4 separate regions of the Homo sapiens genome follow, and regions 1, 2 and 4 are each linked to region 3. The links are contacts of gene promoters, found by promoter capture Hi-C in blood cells and fetal thymus (Javierre and others, 2016). All regions are on one chromosome and are shown on one strand. Each heading gives the region's core, a stretch centred on a gene start or on the middle of the fragment in contact. The rest is flanking DNA. Distances are from core to core; before and after follow the strand shown. Region 1 holds the start of PDK2 (pyruvate dehydrogenase kinase 2). Region 2 overlaps ITGA3 (integrin subunit alpha 3). Region 3 holds the start of TMEM92-AS1 (TMEM92 antisense RNA 1). Region 4 overlaps PPP1R9B (protein phosphatase 1 regulatory subunit 9B).

The links. The method cuts DNA at HindIII sites, captures the fragments that hold promoters and counts their contacts. A CHiCAGO score of 5 or more calls a contact.
Region 1: the fragment with the promoter of PDK2 here is called in contact with the fragment with the promoter of TMEM92-AS1 in region 3 in 1 of 17 cell types (naive B cells); the score reaches 6.1 in naive B cells.
Region 2: a fragment that was not itself captured here is called in contact with the fragment with the promoter of TMEM92-AS1 in region 3 in 1 of 17 cell types (naive B cells); the score reaches 5.2 in naive B cells.
Region 4: a contact is called between a fragment that was not itself captured here and the fragment with the promoter of TMEM92-AS1 in region 3, in 1 of 17 cell types (naive CD4 T cells). The highest score is 5.1, in naive CD4 T cells.

Annotation. Positions count from the first base shown.
Region 1 is chr17:50,093,557-50,096,698 of GRCh38, reverse strand. PDK2 (pyruvate dehydrogenase kinase 2) reads right to left here and starts at 1,348. Exons shown (of 11, transcript NM_002611.5): 1 at 1,146-1,348. The coding sequence starts at 1,263. It overlaps LOC124904024 (a long non-coding RNA gene), which reads right to left. Exons shown (of 2, transcript XR_007065837.1): 1 at 3,120-3,142; 2 at 2,046-2,357. RefSeq lists enhancers at 1-432, 433-948, 1,980-2,189 and a silencer at 1,480-1,599. The HindIII fragment of the contact is 3,439 bases long and covers 1-2,499 here.
Region 2 is chr17:50,074,537-50,077,664 of GRCh38, reverse strand. It overlaps ITGA3 (integrin subunit alpha 3), which reads right to left. Exons shown (of 26, transcript NM_002204.4): 11 at 2,139-2,206; 12 at 1,930-2,066; 13 at 1,190-1,339; 14 at 984-1,081; 15 at 544-691; 16 at 218-286. Among named protein-coding and RNA genes, the nearest start is that of PDK2, 19 kb to the left of the region's middle. The HindIII fragment of the contact is 5,559 bases long and covers 1-3,128 here.
Region 3 is chr17:50,286,576-50,289,392 of GRCh38, reverse strand. It overlaps TMEM92-AS1 (TMEM92 antisense RNA 1), which reads left to right and starts at 1,538. Exons shown (of 4, transcript NR_125805.1): 1 at 1,538-1,653. The HindIII fragment of the contact is 15,975 bases long and covers 1-2,817 here.
Region 4 is chr17:50,130,628-50,133,812 of GRCh38, reverse strand. PPP1R9B (protein phosphatase 1 regulatory subunit 9B) reads left to right here. Exons shown (of 10, transcript NM_032595.5): 10 at 1-76. Among named protein-coding and RNA genes, the nearest start is that of SAMD14, 2.1 kb to the right of the region's middle. RefSeq lists enhancers at 1-660, 711-780, 661-1,403. The HindIII fragment of the contact is 751 bases long and covers 939-1,689 here.

The DNA.
Region 1 (3,142 bases), core at 99-2,598, 190 kb after region 3:
AAACTCTACTGTGAGCCCCTCACAGCTGTGATGTTTCTGTAATTAGGGTGCAGTTTGTGGGGACAGCTGCTGGGGGCTAGGGGTGGGCCCAGGAGGCTTTCCTACATGGGGGAGGCTCAAGACTCAGGCAGGGCAGGGGTGCAGGCAGACAAGTCCTGAGGAACAGGTGCCTTATGTCTCGGCTGCCACCTCTCTGTTCCCGTCCCATCATTGACGCAGCTGCAACCCAAGCTAGGCACTATCAACTCAACTCTTGAGAGACTGCCCCCCACCCCCAGTCCCCAGCTGGCACCATGGAAATACCACATAGACAGACAGGGCCCACACAATGCCCATTTCAGCTGCCACGTTGGCACAGCCTCCCTCCTGCCCCAGGGCCACCCCCAGGTTGCTGGTAGTGGGCGATCCTGACCTAGCAGCCCTGGGGCAGCCAAGGGAGGTATAGGCGGCTTGACTCCACATCACGGTGCCTGGGGCCCCTGCCCAGCTGGGGAGAGGCTGCCAGGCCGGAACAGATTTGATCTTCAAGTGTCCTTGCCCACTGGGGCAGCTAGGGTCCAGCTCCTTCTGTGGGTGGATGTCTACCAGTCAGGGCACTGTCTCCCAATGGCATCTTCTGAAAGAGCCCCCTTCCCCAACTGCCCCTGGCTTAATCTCACCCTCTGCCCAGGGGTGTCTGACCCTTCATGCCCAGTCCAGGTCTCTCTACAGATGGCTGCACCTCTAAACCCTGCCTCCTCACTCCCACCAGCAGACCCCCGGTTTCCTCTGGTGGGAGGAGGGGCCCCTACTCCTCCAGTCATGAGGACAACTCCCATTAACCCTTTCGCGTCTGGATACCACCCTACTCCCTTCCTGCAGTAACATCACAGCTTCACTGCCCCTTACTCTTCAAGACCCTTCATGAGGCCCACGAAGAAACCTCGGGACCGTCCTTGTAAATGCCCCCCATTCCCATCAGCAGCCCCGTCGAGAGGCCCCGGCCGGTTCCTGCTTCCCCATTAACTCTTTCCTGCCTGTACCTTTCCAAACAACCCTTCTCTGTCACTCGGGGCCTTTCTTCTCCTCCGTCCCCCTAGCCCCCGGCTGCCCCTCCCAGCGCCCCGCCGGCCTCCGCTGCCAGCCGCCTCCCGCCCACTCCGTACCGAAGTCCAGAAACTGCTTCATGGACAGCGGGGACGGGGAGAACTTGCTGAAGTGCTCTATGTACTTGGGCGCCCCTGCCAGGGACGCATTCTTCAGCAGCGCCCACACCCAGCGCATGGCTGCGGCGGCCGCGACTTTGGTTGTGGTCCCCGCGCGGGCAGCGCTCGCGCACCTTTCGGCCCAGCGACGCGGTTCGGCCGCCTCCTCCCTACCCTTGCCCTGGCGGGCATTCCAACGCCCAGCCAATCGGCTCGTCATGGCGCCTCGACGTCGCCAATGGCCACTCACAAACAACTCCGGGCGAACCAATAGCCTTCCGCCCCGGCACGTGGCTTCCCCCGGGCCCGCCCCCTTAACCCACGCTTTGCCGGGGCGGCCTGTTGTTTTGGGGAGGCCGCGCCGAGTTCCCACCTCCCCTGTGTTCACTCCTCCCTTTCCTCCGCGGGGCGAAGCCCGGGTTAACCCCTTCCTTCCCAGAGCCCCGCCAGCCCTTTCGCTTCCTCTTCCACGCCTGCCTTTCCCTTGCTACCCCCTCGCATCTCCTTCACCTGCAGGCTCCTTTTAACCCTTCCTTTCCAGAGTTGTCTAGGTAGCTTTCAACCAATCCCTTTTCTCCAACTCAAAGGTACCTGTTTCACCTGTCATGATCGTTACCTATCCTCCCTTAACGGGTCTTGGGGATTCCCAGTCCGGATGACAGTGACCCAGACTGCGAATATTTGCAAAATTCGGAACCAGGGTGCAAGCCTATACGAATCCGTCCTGTATATATGCAGCCCACCCGCTTCCACAAAGATCCAAGCGGCTCAGGAAAAGGCGGAGTTTGCTTTTCCAACTGAAAAACATCCAGAGTAAAAACCATCACTACTAGTGGCGGTGGAGGCAGCAGCTATCGTCCATGCCAGTTAACACTTTCATTTTATTATACAGCTCATCTGACCGAACATAAAGCCTTGGACATCTAGCGCGACCACCTGAGAAAGCCACCTCCTTCGCACCGGGCTTCCTTAGAGCAAGATCCCAGGAGGTGAAGTGTCTCTGGGAGGCCCGGAGCCCGTCCTTCATCAGCGGCCCAGCTTCTCTTGGAGAAAATGTGACGCGCCCTCTTGTGGCCGAATGTGGTATCTCCCATCGTGGGTTTAGGGCCCGACCCGCCACTTTGATGCTTTCTTTGCTCGGTGACATTAGCCTAATACGTGTTAGGCTTTATGCTGGGAACAGGGAACACAGACAGGATCAAGAAATGGCCTTTTTCCTCGATGATTTCATTTCTAAGTTTCAGAGATAGCTACATAAGTAAATAATTAGCTATAACTGAATGTGATTGTAATACAGACCTCACAGAGCAAAGCTTCACATATGGAAGGGCCTCTTAGCTGGATGAATAATAAGCTATATGCCAGGCACTGTTTACAGGCATTATCTCATTTAATTCTCTATTTTATTATTCTTAGCCTCATTTCATAGATAAGAAAACCGAGACTCAGGGATCATTCTCAACTGCAAATCTGACCTTATTACTTCCTTGCTCACAGCCTTTCAATGGGCTATTTTTTTTTTTTTTTTTTTTTTTTTTGAGATTGAGTCTCCCTCTGTCGTCCAAGCTGGAGTGCAGTGGCACAACCTTGGCTCACTGCAAACTTCTCCTCCCAGGTTCAAGCGATTCTCCTGTCTCAGCTTTCCAAGTAGCTGGGATAACAGGCATGTACTACCATGCCTGGCTAATTTTTGTAATTTTAGTAGAGACAGGGTTTCACCATGTTGGCCAGGCTGGTCTTGAATTCCTGACCTCAAGTGATCTGCCCGCCTCAACCTCCCAAAGTGCAGGGATTACAGGTATGAGGCACTGTGCTAGGCCATCAATGGCTCTCTTCTTCTTACTGGAGCCTTTCCAGTTGTCACAAGTCGATTGACTTTTGCTTAATTCTCCAGACTCCTCTCTCTACATTCCCCCATGCAGCTCCCAGCCATACCTGTCTGCTGCCTTGAACCAGCC
Region 2 (3,128 bases), core at 514-3,013, 210 kb after region 3:
TCCACCTGCTCTAGCTTTGTGCACAGCTCCCTAGCAGCCCCATTTGTCTTAGTTTCTGGGCCTCTTCTCACCCTCTACTGAGTCTCTCCTCCCGCACTGTGGCTCTCCACTTCGAGGGAGCCCAGAAAGCAGGCAGGCAGAGGCTGGAAGGACAAGGAGCTCATCAGAGGTGCAGCCAGGGACCCAGGAGGACTGGGAGGATGTGGCCGGTGCTCACCCTCTGGTTCCGTTTGAAGGGGTTCCCCAGCTCGCAAAAGATGGTCTCATTAGCTTGGCAGGCCCCGGGCTGAGGAAAGAAGGCGAATAAGGTCAGGGTCGGGTCAAAGTAGGGCTTGTCCTCCCTCCTCTGTGGTGCAAGGTCAGAAGCCCTAGAGCTTGAGAGCCGGATTCTCCAAGCAGCAGAGACGCTAAGGCCCCCAAGAAGGCCCAGACCAGAGGAGGTGGGCACGTGGCAGACGACAACACCTGCACAGGACATGGATATGGGGATGCAAAGACGCGGGGAGCCCTGCTTGGGCTCTGAGCCGGCCGGCGGGCACTCACGGGGCGCACTGAGGACAGCAGCAGGGCGGGAGGCACCACCAGGGTGAGCAGCGCCTCGTGGGCGTCCTCCCCGGAGCGCTCCGAGGTCCGGGTGTTCGTCACGTTGATGCTCAGGAGCAATTTCCGGACGTCTCTGCTGTACTGGAGCCTGAGAGCAGGAGCCCAGGACTCAGCCAAGAGCCCCGCCCCCAGGGCACTCCCGGATCAACTAGGCCCCGCCCCTGGGGTCTCCTAGGTGAGAAAAGCCCATCTTGGGACAGCCAGGCCCCGTCCTCTAGTCGCACCTGGAGGAGAAAGCCCCGTTTCTGACCATCCCACCTGTTCCCGCTAAAGCCCTGTCCCTGGGCTCGCCTTGCCATGAGGCCCCGCCCCCACCCTGCCAGTTAATGAGGCCCCGTCCCACCCTTGGCCGATTAACGCGGCCGGCGGCCCACAGCCACCTGCTCAGCTTCTGCTGCTGCTCTGACACGAAGGCTGCCCGCATCTGCAAGTTGCTCTCACACTTGTTGTCAGGCCCGCACTCCTTCTGGAACTGGACCTGGGGGGTGGCCGGAGGTGTGAAGGCCGCACCACCCCCCCCAGTGCCCTCTCGCCCCACCGCCCTTCTGGCCCCTGGTCTTCCAGTCCAGGCGCCAGCCCCACTCACCTCAGTGTGGTTCTCCAGAGCCTGTGCCTGGTTGAGGATCGGGTAGGCGTCCAGGGACCGCAGCCCCAGCCGGGGGCGATCGGGCATCCGCAAAGGTAAAGAGTAGTTCATGGAGATGATGATGGGGCGGAGTTTGTCACGGAGGTTGTCCTGGGGAGAGAGGGTGAGCTGAGCCCGGCCCTGCACTGCTCCCTGCCCCAGCTGAATCCTCACACCACCCTGAACCCCAGAGAAGAGCTGGACCCGCCCCCCACCCTGAAAACCTGACAGTTAGGCTGAACTCCCTCCAGTCCGGTCGCCAAATTGCGACTTCCTACTATCCTGACCCTCCAAGAGGAGAGACAGGGCTTCTCCTCCTCAAAAGTCCCTTCACCTCCCCATCCACAGGGTCTCCAGGTTGAGCTCTCCCCTTCCACCCTGATGTCCCAGAGAGGGACTGACCTTGCTCCCTACTCAGGGACCCCTTTTCCCAGAGGTGGGCTGAGCCAAGAGCTCCCACACTCCTCACTTTCCTTGGAGGTAATAAGCCCTTTGGCCCCATCCCCACCCCAAGGGTCTCCATCACTCCTCATGTGTGGGTGCTGTACACTGTACTCCTACACACCAATAGCCTTCCAAACCGATGTCCCCAACCTCTGTCTCTGGGGAGACCCCCGTCCCTCACCCTTGATCTAGGGGGACACTGGCCACCTCCTCCAGGGACCTGGGAGCCCTCATCCTGACCCTTGCTCCTCCCTCACCATCAGGAGCAGCTCCAGCTTCTGGCAGCGCATCTCGGGCATGGAGAAGAAGCCGTGGAAGACAGCGGACTCACTGCCGGCAAAGCGGAGCCGGGGCGGCCGGCGGTCCCTGTCAGCCTCCAGAGTGTAGGCCAGGGCTACAGGTAGACAGGGTGGTCAGCAAGGGGACAGGGGAGCGTACCCCTTTTACGCTGCACCCCAGCACTCACTGATGTTTCGCCTGTAGTTGGGGTTCCCGGCACTCTGGTTGTAAGCAAAGCACAGCTCCACTTGCACACTGTTGGAGGGATGTACAGGAGGGCGGGTCACAGTGGGACACACACGTCCAGGCCCTAGCTCTCGCCTCTGTACTGGGCAAAAGGAAACCGAGGCCCTTCTGGAGAGAGGCAGGGACAAAACTGGGGAGTCCACAAAGCAGGTCTGTGGTGTCCCTGACCCCTTCCCTTCCACTCCCCTTAAAGCCAAAGAGAACAGGGTTAGAGGTCACTAATGGGGAAACTGAGGCCTAGGGCCCAGAAGGACTTGTCTGAAGTCCTCAGTCAGTTGGTGGCCCAGCCCAGTCTTGAACCTAGGTCGGCCAATCCCCAGTCCAGGTCTCCTTGCACCAACCACCCCATTTCCCTGCTCTGTCTGCCTTTGTCTTCTGATCCAAAATCCTCATTCACTTAAAGACCTTGGGGTCATCGCCATCATTACTGTCACTTTCTTAGCAACTAACATTTTTTGAGCACTTAGGGTATACACAGTGCTGTGCTAAGGACTTTCTGTATATTTTCTCATTTAATTATCACAACAACCCTGTGAATCAGTTATTATCAATTCTGTTCTACAAGCAAGAAATCTGAGCCTAAGAGGGATTAATAATTCACCTGAGGAGACTCTCCTCCATATCCATCCACTTAAATGCGTCCCCCTTTCCAGAGCCCATCCCCACCCCTGCACTGGCATAGCTGGGATTTGAACCAGGCCGTCCAGAGCTCCCACCTTGAACCACTATACTCTACTGCCCCCGACTTCATCCATTACCTCTTACAAGGAATTTTGCTTTTTAATGAGGTTGGGTAGAGAGGGCAAATGCTGGCCCCAAGAATCAAATTTCTAAAGGTGGGATGTCAGGAGGCCAGGGGAGGGGTTTGGGAGCTGCAGCCCCTCCTAGCCTCCCTATAAATAAATGAGGAGTAGGTGGGCAGAACAATCTC
Region 3 (2,817 bases), core at 289-2,788:
TGTCATGGACTTTCTCAGGATCCATTTCTTCATCTGTAAAATGAGGGAGTTGGTCTATAGGCTACTTTAGGCTCTTTGGATTGCAAGTGATGATAAACCAACTCAAACTAGCTTGAGCAAAATAAGAGATGTCACTGGGTGCTGTGGCTCACACCTGTAATCCCAGCACTTTGGGAAGGTGAGGAAGGAGGATTGCTTGAGCCCAGGAGTTCTAGGCCAGTCAGCAACGTAGTGAGACCTCATCTCTACAAAAAATTTTAAAAATTAGCCAGGCTTGATGGCATGTGTCTGTCATCCCAGCTACTGGGGAGGCTGAGGCTGAGGCAGGAGGTTCACTTGAGCCTGGGAGGTCGAGGCTGCAGTGAGCTGTGTTCACACCACTGCACTCCAGCCTGGGTGACAGAGAAAGACCTTGTCTGAAACAATGAAAACTAAGACAAAACAAAACAAAACAACACCCCCCAGCCCAAATGAGAGATGTGTTAGCTTTTTGGTTGCCAAGGAAGGGAGGAGTAGCTAGGCCATAGTAAGGCAGCTGGATTTCAGAAACAAACAGAAACAGGCATCGCAAGGTTAACAGGACTTTCTCTCTGTCTCCTGTCTTTACTTTCCTTTGAATGTTGGCTTCATTCCTTCTCACTCAACCAGGTTTTTTCACATAAGGGGCTAACATGGCCACCAGTGGCCCCATCTCCATCTCACACTTTTACTACCTGAGCAATCTAGGATCGGACAGATTCCCTGAGCTCCAAATAGAAAATTCTCAGGGAAGGGCTCTGATTGGCCCAGATTGGATCAGTGCCCACCCCTGAACCAGTCAACCGTAGCCAGAGAAGTAGGATCAAATGGCTGCCCCCAGTTCCACAGTCATTATGTGAATGAGGGTGGGGGTGGGGGCAGATGGAGACAATTCCAAGAGAAGCCAGATGGCTGGGCATGTGGCAAAAATGTGTGCAGTATAACCTGTTCTGAATCTAATTGTTGATGAAAGTTCTGCTATTGCTGTGTCAAAACACAAAATTGTCTTCTTGAGCCTCCAAAGTGATCGCAGCTCACTGCAGTCTCGACCTCCCAGGCTCAAGTGATCCTTCTGCCTCAGCCTCCCAAGTAGCTGGGGCTACAGGTGTGTGCCACCATGCCTAGCTAATTTTTCTATTTTTAGTACAGATGGGGTTTCACCATGTTGGCCAGGCCGGTCTCAAAATCCTGGCCTTAGGTAATCTGCCTGCCTCAACCTCCCAAAGCGCTGGGATTACAGGCATGAGCCACTGCACCCAGCCCATAAACAGTGCTTTTTATTGGGTACTAGAAGCATATGAATAGCAGAGCATAAACCTAAATTTGATCTAATGACCTTTGACAGTGTTAAAAGCTCTGGAACCTGGAGACAGGAAACCAGTTTTTCATACTTTTTATTTTGAAATTATTATAGATTCACAGGAAGTTGCAAAGATAGTACAAAGTGGTCCCAATTTTCTTTGCCAAATTTCTCTCAATTTTTTTTTCCAGACAGGTCCTTGCTCTGTTGCCCAGGCTGCTGTGCAGTGGCATGACCATAGTTCACTGCAACCTCAAACTCCTGAGCTTCAGCGATCCTCCCACCTCAGCCTCCCAAGTAGTCCCATAGTCCCAGCCCCTGAGCTGGGACTACAGGTATGTGCCACCATGCCTGGCTAATTTTTTATAGAGACGGGGTTTCACTATATTGCGCAGACTTGTCTTGAACTCCTGGGCTCAAGCAACCCTCCTGCTTCAGCCTCCGAAAGCACTGGGATTACAGGCAGGAGGCACCTGACCTCCAAGGGTTACAGGGTTACATCTCTTTTTTTTTTTTTTTTTTTTGAGATGGAGTTTCATTCTTGTCCCCGAGGCTAGAATGCAGTGGTGTGATCTCAGCTCACTGCAAACTCCGCCTCCTGGGTTTCAGCAATTCTCTTGCTTCACCCTCTGGAGTAGCTGGCACAGGTGCGTGCCACCACTCCTGGCTAATTTTTGTATGTTTAGTAGAGACGGGGTCTCACTATGTTGGCCAGGCTGGTCTCAAACTCCTGACCTCAGGTGATCTGCCCACCTCAGCCTCCGAAAGTGCTGGGATTACAGGGGTAAGCCACCGTGCCAGGCCCTCCAAGGGTTACATCTTATGTAAAGTATCAAAGCCAGGAAACTGACGTGGGTATAATGTGTGTGCCTAATTCTGTGTTGTTTTATCACATGCAAATTTGTGTAACTACTACCTCTTCAAGTAAAATGCAGAACTGCTCCCCCACCAAACAGATCTCTCTGGTGAGACCTCTGTGTAGCCATACCCACTCTCTCCCCATCAACAACTAATGTGTCTCCATCGCTATCATTTTGAGGAGGCTGAGTTTTAAATCAACTTCCGACCCTCTCAGCAGTGTGACCTTGGATAAGTCATTTGTCCTTTTCTGGATGTTGATCTTCTCAGCTAAAGTAAGACAAGGTTGGCTCACATCAACATTCCTCTTGAATTTCCACAGGCTGATATGATCTGAAAATGCTACGGAGATTATGAGAAAGAAAATGGGGTTTTATGGTGAAATAAACTAGGGAAATGATGCTTTCCATAAATACATAATGCTTCTTTACCGTGAATTCTCAGCCCTTTAATACACTAAGGTGAACTGTGAATCTTCTAGTGTGGGAGGTATACGCAGCATTTTCCAAATTTATCTGAACACAGAATGCTCCCCCCACCCTTAAAAAAATCCTCTAGAAAAAAAATCACTTGGAACTAGTTTTTCAGGGAATATGCTTAGAGATATGCTTTTTCAGGTGACCTCTGAGGTCCTCCTGCCT
Region 4 (3,185 bases), core at 65-2,564, 160 kb after region 3:
TATATGTATGTATTGTTCCCGGTTTTGTACGGACCATGCCCTCTGTCAGGTCGTCCCCATAAAAGCAGCCCCCAGAGCCTTGCTGCCTGGTTTCTTGATTCACTGAGGTGGGGAGTGGGCAGGGATCAAGGATGCCAGGCTGCCCCAGTGGTCCCCTCCCACCAGTGCTGCCTCTAACCCTGAGGAACTTCCTACAGTGTCCCCCCGTTTCCGGTTCCAGCAAACTGCTTTTCTGCCCCCATTCCAGCCATCAGCACCCATGCTTTTTGTCCAGTCCTCCTGGGCAGGGCTGAGGGTTTCTAGAGAGTTTGTTTAGTCTGCATTCGTTTTTCAGGGCCTCTAAGAAGTTCAAAGGATGGGCTAAATACAGCAAGGTGAACCCCAAGTCCCTCCCCCAGAAGGCCTTTAAACTGTGGGGACACTCTCAAGAGGCACCCGGTGTGAGGCAGGTAAAGGATCAAAGGATTGCTGGGGGTGGGAGGTGACTGCCTGGCAGTTTAGTACCCAGGGTCCTAGAGGATCTGTTTGCCCTTTGGGGCGGGCCAAGTGGCCTGAAATAGCCCCAGCCCCTGTGCTGGGCCAGCAGGCCTGTGTGCTGACTCACCAGCTCAAATGCTAATGGGTCTGGGAGTCTAGGTGCCAGAGTTCCAGGGACAAGCTTTGGTGAAGTCCCAGAGGGGTGAGAGCCAGCAGGGAATGGGGCAGGAGCTTATGGCAGGCCCCAGGGCCAGCCTTTCCTTGCCGGGGTGCTGGTGTGCAGATGTCAGAGACCTGAAGCATGGAGGCACTTGCACTCAGTGGTGTGGCACTAGGGAATTCTCACCTTTGCCATAAGGAATGAAGTCCCAACTTCAGAGCCCTTCAAGGTCACCTTGGTGGGTCCTTAACAACATCCAGATGAGTGGCAGCACCCCCAGGGACAGTCTGCTCCAGAAGCTTCCCTTGTAGATGGCTGTGTCACACAGGTCACATTCATGCTAAGCCAAATTCTGGCTTCCCATAGCTATCCCTCAAAAACCCTAGGTCTACACCTCAGGCCAGTCCAATCCTGCCTCCCACCTGAGGGTTGCCTGGAAACCTGGGGATAGTGAATACTCTTCCCAAGGCATCTTTGCTATGTGGACGATTGTTGGAACACTCTGGGAGCCCTAAGGATGCTGAAGACGGATCAAGGTGTCTGATCCCCAAGATCAGAGACCACCAAACCACAGGGTCAGAGGTCATGGCTCCAGAGTTAGAAGTCACTGAACCCCAGGGCCACCAAGGCCCTGCTCAGGAAACCTAGCCAAGAAGTGAAGTGGCATGACCTTCCTGTAATCTGTAGTCTTAATCTGGGTGGGGAGGCAGGCATGAAGGTTTCGAGGGTTTCTGCTGGGCCGATGGGGGCTAAGCATCCAGGGCGGGGTCCCTCTGTCCCTCCCCCACTCCCCGTCTGTCCTGTGTGTTAGGTGAGGGGCCTATACATAGTATGTTTCAAACAGTGGGCCAAGTAACCCCTCACATTTAAGCCCAAGTGTGTTGTGTGCCTGGAGGTGTGTGTGGCTTTGCTGTGAGTTTCTCAAGCCTGAGCTGTGACTTGCCCATGATACACAGTATGTCCATGTTTGGGACTTTGTCAAGTAGCTGTAAGTGGGCCTGTCACCTTAAACCCTCCTTATCCCCCCACTCACTTGCCCAATTTTGGAAGCTTGAGTAGGTTTGCCAACACTTGCCAATAAGGCAACTTATTGCCAACCCTCAGAAGCTTAGGCCTCACTAGGAATAGGGGAACAGGGGCTCCTCCTGGGTCCTATGGCCTGGCAAACATACCCATCATCTCCCCACCCCCTTGGGATGTACAGGGTCTATATAATCAAGCCCCCCACTACAGCCCACCACTCAGATCTCACCAGATGCCTACAAAGCACAACCCCTTTAAGACAGCCAGATGCAGCCCCCACAGCTGTCAACAGAAACCCCACCCCTTCCCCAGATTTCCACAATCTAGCCTCATGGCTGCCAGAAGATTCTGAAGACACCCAGAGACCCCCAAACTCCTATAAATCCCCTAGGATACCCTCAGACCCTAAAGGCTGTTAATTCTGTCCTCACTCATAGTCACAAGATTGTCCTGGTTCAACAGGCCACTTCCCGGAGGCCTCGGACTGCAGAGTCCTGTGGGCCATCAGGGAACTCTGTCCTATAGACTCCACACCTCTCCTCTGACTCTAGACCCCTGATCCAGCTTCACCACTTGCCTTTTTTTTTTTTTTTTTTTTTTTTTTTTTTTTTTTTTTTTGAGATTTGAGTTTCACTCTGTTGGCCAGGCTGAAAGGCAGTGGCACAATCTCAGCTCACTCCAACCTCCACCTCCCAGGTTCAAGCAATTCTCATGCCTCAGCCTCCAGAGTAGCGCCACCATGCCTGACTAATTTTTGTATTTTTAGTAGAGACAAGGGTTTCACCATGTTGGCCAGGCTGGTCTCGAACTCCTGACCTCATGTAATCCACCCACCTTGGCCTCCCAAAGTGCTGGGATTACAGTCGTGAGCCACTGCGCCTGGCCTTTCACCACTTGCTCTTGAGCAAAGCACTTTCCTTCTTCTAAGTCTCTGTTTTCTCTGAGGCAGTGGGTAATGGAAACACCCACCTTGTGGGTTTATTGTGAGGGTGACAATAGATGATCTGAGAGCGCCTGGCACCTGCCAAGCTGTGACGTGCGGTAGCTGGTTGTGGATCCCTACATTGCCTCCCTGGCTGGCCTGCCACTACCATCAGCGCACTGGGTCCAAGTCTGATCTCATCCGTCCCCACCCCCACCTGCTCCAGGGCTTCCTGCCTCAAGCCAAGGTCCACAGCCATCCTAGACCCCTCCTCCCTCACCTCCTAGTCCAGCAGGTCCCCAAATCCTGTCAGCTTCTTCGGTGTCAGCTTCTTCAGGCCTGCATCCTGAAGGGCTCTCAGCTTAATCTGTAATCTTTATGCCCACTGCCACCGGCCCTCAATAGCCTCCAGCGGGTCTCCCTGCCTTCAGAGTGCCCTCTGTAACCCTGTCTCCAGGGGAGCCAAGGGTGCTTCCTAAATGCACACCTGAGCCCCTCCCTCCTCTTAATTTTGTGTGTGTGCGCGCGCGCGCGTGTGTGTGTGTGTGTGTGTGTGTGTGTGGGCGGCGGGGTGGGCGGCTGGTAGAATAAAGTGCAAGCCCC